2 separate regions of the Homo sapiens genome follow, and region 1 is linked to region 2. The links are contacts of gene promoters, found by promoter capture Hi-C in human tissues and cell types (Jung and others, 2019). All regions are on one chromosome and are shown on one strand. The core of a region is centred on a gene start or on the middle of the fragment in contact, and the rest is flanking DNA. Distances in the headings are between cores, read along the strand shown. Region 1 overlaps CORIN (corin, serine peptidase). Region 2 holds the start of CORIN (corin, serine peptidase).

Evidence for each region. Contacts are between HindIII fragments. The study calls those that stand out against the background at their distance.
Region 1: a fragment that was not itself captured here is called in contact with the fragment with the promoter of CORIN in region 2 in 3 of the 25 tissues and cell types used here (H1 embryonic stem cells, mesendoderm cells and pancreas).

What each region holds. Positions count from the first base shown.
Region 1 is chr4:47,734,502-47,739,952 of GRCh38, reverse strand. All of the region lies in intron 5 of CORIN (corin, serine peptidase), which reads left to right. Among named protein-coding and RNA genes, the nearest start is that of MIR8053, 85 kb to the right of the region's middle. The HindIII fragment of the contact is 8,496 bases long and covers 1-5,451 here.
Region 2 is chr4:47,835,079-47,841,163 of GRCh38, reverse strand. CORIN (corin, serine peptidase) reads left to right here and starts at 3,097. Exons shown (of 22, transcript NM_006587.4): 1 at 3,097-3,277. The coding sequence starts at 3,215. All of the region lies in intron 1 of LOC101927179 (a long non-coding RNA gene), which reads right to left. The HindIII fragment of the contact is 9,769 bases long and covers 1-6,032 here.

The DNA of each region.
Region 1 (5,451 bases), core at 510-3,009, 100 kb after region 2:
CTTGTTGCTTGGCTATTTTTTTTAGTTATTCTTATTGGTTGTGCTGGAACTTAAAATTAACGTCTTAAGTTATAACAGTCTAGTTCAGATGAATCCTAACCGAATTTCAACAATATCTACACTTTGCTTCTGTATAGCTTTGTTTCTTTTTCCTTCTTTGTACCATTATGTATACAAATTACATCTTTATATAATATAATCTCAACATAGGTTTATTGATTATGATTATAAATTATTTATGCAGTTGTTTTTAAGAATCAGATAGGATAATAAAAGATTTATAGAAAAAATACATTTCTTTTATCTTACTTTTACCTATTTAATTACCTCTACCAATACCTTTTATTTCTTCATATGGATTCAAGTTGCTGTATACTGTCCTTTTATTTTATCCCAAAGGACTTCCTTTAGTACTTCTTACAGGGTGGTTCTGTTAATAGCAAATTCTCTCCACTTTTGTTTATCTGGGAATATCATAATTTGTCTTTCATTTTGAAAGGATATTTTGCTGTACATAGAATTTCTGTTTGACAGTCTTTTATTTTCAGCACTTTGAATATGTTATCCCACTTCCTTTTGGACTCCTCAGTTTGGATGAGAAGTCAGATGTTAACCTTTCTGAAGCTCCATTTTATCTGATGAGTTGCTTATCTCCCAGTGTTTTCAAAATTTTCTGTGTCTGATTTTTGATAGATTAATTACAATGTGTCTAAGTGTAGATCCTTTAGAGTTTATTTGAATTTTTGTACTTCTTTGTTATGCAGATGTATGTTTTTCTCCAAATTTGAGAAGTTTTCAGCTATTATATCTTCAAACATTCTTTCTGACTCATTCTTTTATCTCTTTCTGGGACTCCCATTATGAGTATGTTGGTACATCCTCCAAGTCATTAAGGACCTTTTAATTTTTCTTCTTTTTTTTCTTTCTGTTCCTTAGACTAGATAATCTCAGCTTACTTATCTTAAAGTTTGCGGATTTTCTCTTCTGCCTGATCAAGTCTGCTGTTAAGTCTTTCTAGTAAATTTTTAATTTCAGTTATTATATATTTTACTGCATAATTTCTAATATTTTAAAATAATCTATATATCTTTATTAATATTTTGTATTTTTTGAGCCATTGCTCTTATACTTCCCTTTAGTTCTCTAGAAATGTGTTCCTTAGTTCTTTGAATGAGTTAAAATAACTGATTTAAAAGTCTGTCCAGTAAATTCAATGTCTGAGCTTCCTCAGGAACAGTTTTTGTTGACTGTTTTTTCCCCCTCTATATGGGCATATGTTCCAGTCTCTTTGGACATCTTGTAATTTTTTGTTGAAAGTTGGACATTTAAAATAATATAATGTTCAACTCTGCAAGTTGAATTCTTCCCCCCAACATTAGTTGCTGTTTCTGTTTCTTGTTGCTTTAATTATTGTTATTTATTTGTTCAGTGAGTTCCCTGAAACAAATTATGTTAAGTTTGTTCTTTGTCATGTCTGGCCACTGAAGTTTTTGCCCAGATAGCAGCCTAGTGGTCAACTAATGGTTGGACAGAATTTCCTTAAATGCCTTTAACAGGTATATATCCTAGTCTTTGCCAAGGGATTCTGTGCATGTTAGGGTGCATAGTCAGTACTGTAGCAGAGTCGACACTATAGCAGAGTCAATGCTATAGCAGTCAATACTATAGCAGAGTTTACAGCTCTGCCTTATCCTTAAATTTCTGCTTGTACAGGGTCTCAATGTCTGCCACAGGTGAGATATTTGGGCCTTTCTGGGTCCTTCTTAGGTATATGCATAGTCCTGCACATTCATGGGATCTTCTAGATTCTCAGCAATGTATTAGAGCTTTTCAAATTTTCCTACAGGAATTCCCCACATTTTTCTTTTAATTTTTCTGGTTAGCTTCTTGTTTGCCCCAAGTGATATCCCCACCTCAGACAGTTACAGTGTTAATCGATTATTAATTTTTTTTTTTAGAAACACCCCGGGGAAAAGGCTTTTGCACTGAGTAAGCTCTTATTCAGGTCAAATAATCACATTTGCTCTGAGTTTCCAGGGAGCTAACAGACAAGAAAAATAATGACAATTCTTTGGTAATGGGGCATTGTGGAGAGCTCCAAGCATGTTTTGCCCCTTCTAGTGGCTGCTTGGCTGCTAGTTTTCACAGCTGATGTAGTTGTGAGGTTATCTAGATCAATAACCATATCTTATCACCTGCTTTCTTAGACCATGTCTGACACTAGGTGCTAAAAGTTGAGTTTTCTGCAAATAGTAACTGAGATGGAGTTTGGTGTACAGAGTATTTATTAAGCTTCAGCCTTTGTGTTAAGGGAGGGAGAGAAAGCAGAATTGGGCAGAAGGAGTTGAAATATGATCCAGGCCCACCAAAGCCTCAGCTAAATCCTTGGGGAGTTCTGGAATGTATTAAGCCTACAAGAGTTATCTCATGTTGATCCAAAATAGTTGAGTCTATGTGTCTCCACCTCAATCAGTCATTGGATGTGGTCCTTCCTGGGAAGAGTGTGCCACTGAGTGAGGCAGATCTCTTCAGTGTTCCACAGCTGAGGCAAAACCCGAAGGATCTGACAGCTAAAGGCAGTGGGCCAGCAAATGTAGCAATAGATTCTTGAAGGGTAGACATATATGGCCAGATCGTATATGTGATATGGGCCAGACACATATATGATCACACGTATGTGCCACATATATGATCACTAGGCACATATGGGGCCAGATAGCCTTAATTTAATCAGAGACTAAGCTGATTTTGCCTCATTGTTATAAGGCTCCGTCTACCTCTGGTTTTTCTCCATTCTGAGAGTGTGGTTCTCCAGTAGTCTCAACTGAGAAACTGGTAGGCTTACTATATTCCCTTCCTCCTTGAGTAGTTCCAAATTTTATTTTATTTTCTGCTCAGAGCAGTATAATTTCTGTAATTTCCATTCTACTTTTCTGAAGTTTTCTGCTTAGTTCTTTAGGCTCCTGCCCTCTGTGGCAAATGCCTTGCAAGGCAACCCTCCCAAGTGATAGATCTGCTTCTCTATGTCTCCCCTTTCACTGCTCACCTGGCCCCTTAGTATCTGGCTGCTTCAGCAACACCAAACTCTAATTTTTGTCTCTTCGCCTTTGTGGAATTGCCAAAAGTTCTGCTGGCTTATCTTGTCTTTGCAGTGGTCACATGTGTAGCACCATGCCAAGAACTGGCAAGTTCCATGAAGGACAAGGCATACACAGATTGTAGACTCTTAGGGCATGTTCTCACTTAGCTAAATGATAAGAATACATAGACACATAGAGGGGAACGACTGATACTGGGGTCTACCAGAAGGTGGAGGGTAGGAGGAGAAAAAGGATCAGGAAAAATAATTAATGGGTACTAGGCTTAATAAGTGAGTGATCTGTACAACAAACCCCCATGACACAAGTTTACCTATATAACAAACTTGCATATGTACTTTTGAACTTAAAATAAAACTTTAAAAAAGAATGTAGACTCTTTGTTCTATAGTTATCTTCTCTCTGGGACCTTGGCCACTCACATCTTAATTATCTCATCAGCTCTCAGATGCCTTCCAACAGATGTTTCTTGTGTTTTATCTGGCTTTTCTAGTTGTACTTGACAGGGGCATTGATCTGCTGCAAGTTACTACCTCATGGCCAGAAATGGAAGTTTGTTTTCTTTTTCACACGTTGTTTAGTAGAGGTCTGCTGCTAAATTAGGATTCCCTCCAAAAGATAGTATATAGCTAAAAGCCACTAGAAGGCTGAGTGAGTAAAACTGAAAGAGAAGTCCTTTAAGTCTTTTCTGTTTTAACTACATTTTCTCCTGTTTTATAAGAATGCTTACAGTCTTCATTAGTGGTAATTTGGAAAATGTAACCCATTGATACGGGATTTAAGAATTCATAGAGAAAACTTGAAAATAAAAAAATCATCAGTGTTATGTAACACTGTTGCTCAAAACATATCAGTTCTTGAAAATCAAAATAACATTATTAGTATCCTCTTTTTTTTTTTTTTTTTTTTTTTAAGATGGAGTCTCTGTCGCCCAGGCTGGAGTCTCTGTCGCCCAGGCTGGAGTGCAGTGACGCGATCTCTGCTCACTGCAAGCTTCGCCTCCCGGGTTCACGTCATTCTCAGGAGAATGTCTCAGCCTCCGGAGTAGCTGGGACTACAGGTGCCCACCACCACTTCCGGCTAATTTTTTGTATTTTTAGTAGAGACGTGGTTTCACCGTGTTAGCCAGGGTGGTCTTGATCTCCTGACCTCGTGATCCGCCCGCCTCGGCCTTCCAAAGTGCTGGGATTACAGGCATGAGCCACCATGCCCAGCCCATTATTAGTATTTTTTAATAACAAACTAAAATGCCACTTAAAACATTGGCTCTCTAATATCAGAGGATATTGCAAATATTCTAATCTTGGAAGAGATTGATGATCTTGGAAAAAATCTTAGAAAGATTGATGAAACATTTATATTTAAAAATGTATGTTTAAATAGAACAGAAATTTCCGAAGTACACTCATCTGAGATCCTCTACTTGTCAGATAATCTTTTTTAGAATTCTTGGTTGTAATATTTTTTTCATGTAGAGATAATTCTCCAAAAATGCATCTGACAATTGGTGTTTGATGTAATATTTACCTAGAATTTAAAATAAGTATTCTGTCTCTTGCTTTATGGGTAAACAGGATGCTAGACACTATTCATAGTTTGTGTGCTATAGAGAAAGTCACTGCCAGCTACAATCTTTGTATATGCATAAGAATGTAATTTCTTGTATACACAGACATAGTTACTAAAAAGTGTAAGAATATATTGTATGCCAACCAGCAAAGTGTTTATTATATAATACAGTCTTAATCATATAAGGGATTATGCTATAGAGCCACTTTATAAATACAACTAATGTAGTTTTTCTTTCATTTTTTCATTCAATATTGATTGAGCACTTTTTCTTTTCTGCGTATCATTCCAGGTACTCTGAAAAAGTAAAAGTAATTATGATGACCATAATTTTAATCTGTATCTGTTTAACGCATTGGTTCTTCACTAGGGGTGATTTTGCAGCCCCCATTTGGGAACATTTGGCAATGTCTGTAGACATTTTTGGTTGTCACAACTGTGAGAACAGGGGGAGTTGCTACTAACACCTAGTAGGTAGAGGCAAGATATGCTGCCAAACATCCTACAATGTACATGCAGGACAGCCTCCCACAACAAAAAATTACATGGCCTAAAATGTTAGGAGTGCTGCTTTTGAGAAACCGTGGTCCAGGGCTATATGTTTTGCAAAGTACTTTCTAACAGTAATAATTATAATAATAGTTTAACATACTTCCTACCTTTAAGGAGTGTTAAACCTAATCTGTGATACCCACGTGTAAGAAACAGAATGTTAAAAGAGCATTAATAACTACATGTAAATATGCTGTGATACAGAAAGTATAAAAGGACACAGGTTAAATGT
Region 2 (6,085 bases), core at 1,848-4,347:
AAAAAAAATCTGAGGCATCAGATGTGAGGTGAGGTGAGGTGAGGCATCTCAGTTTTTGCACATATGGTTACTGTTATTGAGGGAGCTCCATGTCATTGAGGGAGCTCCACGTCATTGAGGGAGGACTGGGTGGGATGCTGGCCAAAGGTAGGGGCATATTTAGGCAGTGAAATTGCAGTTATGGGACCCCTCTATAGCACTAGATGTGTGAGAGGACTAAAAATAAAATTCCTTTGAAATTTCTTACAGGGTCATATATTACCTCCTTCCCAATGACTACTGTGGTATATTAGAGTAGGGGATTGATGTCCCAGAAATATTATGTACATCAAACAGAAGATCTACACAAATTGTTTTATCAGATACTGAATATATCAATGGGCTAGAGTGTATTATAGTACATATGGGTATGTTGTTTTCCCCCTTTTGACTAAATAAACTCTCCCCTCTCTGCAACAGGTAAATTTCCAGTTTACCTTTTTCTTGCTGTTTTTAATTTTTTTTATTTTGAAGGCTTTGTATCTTTATATCTCAGCTGAAAATATTACATTCTAACTCCCCAAAGCTATTCTCACATTATTTGCAAGTATTTTTTCATAGTTTACATGTTTGTGTATTTGTTTAATACATTCCACAAGACTGAAAGTCTTGGTGAGGGCAGGAACTCTGTCTAGGTTGTTCATCTGGCAGCCAGCAAACCCAAAATAAGTATTAGTTGAATGAATAGCTAAATAGATGAGCCATGGGGTAGCATATCTGTTTTAGCTACTGCTTGCCTGTTATCATCCTGGGATGCTGCTTGCTTCTCCGTGATCTCTTCTTGTTCTTAAATTGTCTTCAGTTGTAGTACTAAGTACTAATTTGATCTGTAATGTGATATGTGGCTGAAGTTTGCTCTGTAAAATCACCGTTTCCTGAGGTATATTCAATATCTTTAATTTTTCCATAAATCTCTTCAAGGTTTGTGTGTGTTTTCTTTTAAATTATCTAACTAGTTGGATGTATGCTTGAAGTGCTAGACAATAAAAGTTTCAATAGGCTAGAAATGTTTCTTTTTGTAAAATTATTTTAAGAAACTAGATGATGGTTGTCACTTGAAGCTGAAATGCAAATGTAGCTAGTTTTTTTTAAAGAATAATTCAAATAGGTCATTAAAGATTACTATGAGCACACTGCATATTCAAATCAGTTTGAATATGTTTTGAGACTTCTAATAGTTTATGATTCTTGACATTTTAATGAGCACACTGCATATTCAAATCAGTTTGAATATGTTTTGAGACTTCTAATAGTTTATGATTCTTGACATTTTAAAAGTTTATTATAAAGAATATAAAACATCTTTACCCTCATTTTTTATGTCATTACCTTCATGCAAAGAATACCTCAGGTATTAATTCTGGTGCTGTTGGTAACTAGAACTGGTTGGGTTTTCTTGCTAAAAGGAAGTTTAAAAAATGTTTATTTTACACCATTAATGCAATTAGCTTTAGTTCTCAGAGGAACTAAAAGTGGAAAAGTGAGGGAGACTGATCGACCCTATCTCAAATCCACTGACGTAGCTACTTTAATTTCATAGTCCCTGTAGCACCTCCACCAGAGGGCAGAAAGTGGAAGAGAAAGAAGATGAAATAGAAACTTGTACTTGGCCTCAGAATGCCTGTAGAAACCTTAGCAATTGAATCCAGCCCTTATGTTATAGGCTGAGTTAACTGTGGCCCAGAAAGACTATGTGATTTGCTCACAGTTCTTGATTCCCAGACTGGCACTGCGGTGATGGTGTGTGATGAGGTAGTATCTTAGTAAGAACACAATCCAGAAGTCACTGCCTCGGGGGAATCCCAGCTCAGCTTCTTGCTAGCTTGCGTAGGCTGGTTACTTCACTTCAGCTCCCTGAATCTGCTTTCTTATCTCTAAAATAAAAATAATAGCTTCTTCCTCAGAGTAGTTGGTGGAACTGAAAGAATACATGTAAAGTGCTTAGTATGACACCTGCCACATAATATGAACTGAATTATTGTGAATTATGATAAATTTGTCAGATACTGGTTTACAAATCGGATGTTAGAATAACATGGAATCAGTGTTTCAGTCATTTTACTATACATATGCAATATTTTCTACATTTGATCTCACTTCAGAAACAAAATACTGCCCCCCCCATTTTACAAATGCATATTTTTTTCTCAGCAATAATGTTCAAGAACAAGTGCTTGGCCCATATTTTGTTGTCTTTACATGGCTTTCTTTAAATAATGGGGATGGATTTATTAAATAACCTCATGAGTAATTTTCAAAATTTCCATTAAGATCTTGATTGAAATTGGATGAAAAATCATTTCTAAGAAAAACCCAATGAAGTGTTTTTCTTTGCCACATTTGACAATTGCCTTGGACTTGGTAAAGTAATCATTACTGTGTTGAGTACCTCCAGTGCCCTCCTTGACGCTGCCTTAGAAAAGGTAGCTGCTTTTGAATGACAGGCAGGAATTTGTTCGCCTTTTAGGTTCAGCCTGTAGGTGCCCTCTGCAGGAAATCAGGAACTAGGGTTTTGGAAGCAGTCAGGGTGGGGTTCTCCCTTGTCCCTGCAGCCTCAGCAAAGACTCAGGCAGTCTGGCAAAAGCAGTTTCTTCAGCATACCTAACAGAACGCAAGTTTCCATATGCCTGATGCAAATAATGGCCTCCAAACGTTAAACCTTTTTTGAGATAAACTTGTTCTTTAATTGCCAGCGCCTGCAGTTAATTTTGATTGGCTACACTCTGGTTAAAAGAAAATGCTTTCGATGTGATATGGCAAATTTGGAGAAAAGTAACTCTTTTGCTCCCAACCAGTCTTCCACAACTTAAACTTAATCGTCCTGTCCTTTTCTGCTGCCCTCGTGGAGTGTAAGTTTTTGAGGGAGACCAGCAGAAACTGACTTTCCATATGCCCCTGAAGAATAACTTCTTTGAATGCAAAGAGGTGGGGACACGGAGGATCTGTCATTACGGGTTATTATGGGTGGGACCCAGAGACGGGAGTGAAGGGAGGGTGTGGCCCGCGGGTGGGATCTGTAGAGCAGACAAAATATGGGGCCCCTGGCGCTTAAAGTTCAGTTTGTCTCTCTTGAGCTTGGAGAAAATCATCCGTAGTGCCTCCCCGGGGGACACGTAGAGGAGAGAAAAGCGACCAAGATAAAAGTGGACAGAAGAATAAGCGAGACTTTTTATCCATGAAACAGTCTCCTGCCCTCGCTCCGGAAGAGCGCTGCCGCAGAGCCGGGTCCCCAAAGCCGGTAAGATCGATGATTCGCTGTCCTACCGCAGCCAGGTGTGATGGCCTCTTAGTCCCGGTGAATTCAGGGTCAGCCCCTCCCGCCCCCGTCCTCTCCTCCGCCCGATGCCACCTCCTTCCCCAGCCGCCGGTGAGCTCCCGCTCTGACAGTTCCGCGCTCAGCGCCCTGCACCCAGTTCCCAGGCGCACGGCCCTGGTCCCGACCACCACCCCGGTCGCCCGGCGTCCGAGACCCTCCCAGGGTCATGGGCAGGGTTTCCTTCAGTGTTCGAGTCGGCTCGATCCGGAGACCCCGGTCTCCATGCCGGGGGTGATGCCACCTTTCCTGCAGAGTCCCTCCTCCGCACGGTGCCCTCCAAGCATCTAGTGGACTTGGCTGCACACTGGCGGCAGGGGAGGCTGCAGGTGGAGCTGTCGGAGCCAGCCCCTCGGGGATCTACAGCTTCCTGTCTGCGCCGGCGTCTCGGGCGCCGGGTGGCTGGAGGGACTGTGCAGCAGTCTTGCCTGCCCCAGACGTAAGCCCCCTTCCCCAGCTGCGAGCGCCTGGGTGTCGGTCCCTCCACAGCCCGGGCTCGCGCTTGGTTCCCCGGCCCCCAGTTGGTGCCTGGGGATCACTCGCCCGTCCTAAGTGCTGGCATCCCAGAACTGGCCCTCTTGCAGAGTGCTGGGAACTTGTAGGTCCCTGCGTGCAAACTTTCTCCGGCGTGAACCTGCCTAGGCACAGGAGGGCTGGCCGCCGGGGGCGCAGGCTCTGCGCTGTAGGATTTGGTTGGCTCAGATCCAGTCCTGGGAAGGGGCAGCGTTGGCTCTCGTTCAGGAGGAGAAAGAAAGGGAAGGGCACCACGGACAGTCCCTACTGGCCTGAGCCCCCAGGAAGAAGGTCTAATTTGCGGCTGCCCCTCTCCTTCGGTGTCATTAGGGCCCCGGAATCCGCTTGCTACCGCGAGGGTCCCAGCTGCTCCGAATCGGGGACCGACCGGTGACGCTAGCTGCAGGCAGAGAGGGCAGGCTGTGCGGGCGGAAGGGAGGTGGTGTCTTGTCGGATCTTACTGGGACCCAGTTCCTGAGCTCCCGTGGCAGGCGCCTCACTCCTGCTACTACCTGCTCGGGGCCAGTGGATGGCAGTGTACGCGCTTTTTGCACGGCTCCCGGTTCCTGGGACCGAGCCCTGGGAGCTCTGACTTTGAATTCAGCAGGGAAGCTTCGGGGCTGGGCATTCCCAGGGAAGCTGTTCGAGTAATTCATAAAGTGGAGCTTTCCTCCCGCGGGAAACTTCTGAGAACGATGCGCTGCGAAGACGGACTCCTGTACAAGACTTCGATGACTGACATAGGCACAATTGTGGCTTCTAGTTTTTATTTTAACTTTTTATTTAAAGTAACTTATCGATGGAAGCGAAACTCTGCAAAGGAACGTCAGACCGCTACCAGAAAGGGGGTGAAGTCAGGACTTACTGGTGATTATTGTCCAAGGACACATTTAAGCAGATAGTTTTGAAATTAATTTTGGCATAACCCTGAGACAATGAGAAGAAACAATGCATTTATAAAAAGTTATTAAACCATTTTTTTTTGTCACAGTCAAAACATTCATTAGCTTGTTTCTATTATTAGGTGCCCAATAGGTTTGTTGTGTGAGATTGTGCTAAAAATTGGTCCTCAGATCCTGGGACTTGAGAGGTTAGAGGAGGTTCCTGGGGCTTGCGAGGTTAGAGGAGATGTCTGCATAGACTCACGTGTGGGCTTGGCTGACCAGGCAGGTTTTCCATAGAATGCTTTCCAGGACACCAAGAATTTCAATAGGATGAACTATTTTGGGGTTATTTGGGTGTGGAAACACATCAACCTCAAAACCCCAAGATTCTATAAGGCATTTTTTAAGGGGGAGGGGACTCTTTCCAGAAAGTTCCTTTCAGGGTAGGCTTACAGGACCAACGATGAAAGCCTCTGTTAACCTTCCTGTGGGTTAAAAAGACACACCAAGAATTGCTCTATTAACCTTATCAAGCACATATCCAGGTACAGAGACACTTTCTTAAAAGATGCAAAATTCATTCCATCAGAAACCTTCCTCATAATGCTGCAGAAATCACAATAGCAACAGCATAGAAGGCAGGCATCAGTGCTTCCGCATCTTGCATTCCACAACCAGCTGTGGTTTCCTTTTGGAAGGGTCACATTCTCCACCATAGCTTCATGTGGATTTCAGCAGTTGCTAGTTCTATTGACTGGCCAGCCCCTCTGTTGACCTCCCCCACTGTTGGGGGCAGACAGGAAGTTAGAGGAGAAGCTGAGTGGCCCAGGAGCTTCAGAGAGTCACTTTCAAAAGCCTGTACTTTCAAATCTCCATACTGTTAATGAGGTACTCCTTTCCTTATTTTTCCTCTTTTCCGCACTTGTAGCCTCTTTCAACACAAAGACTTGTGGTCTTAGGGTTTCTGAGTGTCCCCACTGCTGGGGTAATAAGAGCTCTCTGAGGAGCAGGAGAGCCGCAACACTGAATTGTTGCTGAGCGTATCTGAGGGGGAAAGGTTTGTTTGACCTGCTACTTCTACCTAATAAGTTATTCAACAAGTATGGATTCATGCATCCTGTTAGCCCCATCACTATTCTTGGCATTCCATTTTGCTGGACCAAATGGAAAATGAGGCTGGCTGGCTAAAGGGTACTGACCTGATACTGGCTGGCTAAACATACTAGGTTCACACTAAACACTCAAGGGATTCCAAGACTTACCTGTTCCTCAGAGTCTACACACTCACATAAAGACACACACAGACATAATACACTTGTTTGTTTTATGTCTGTTC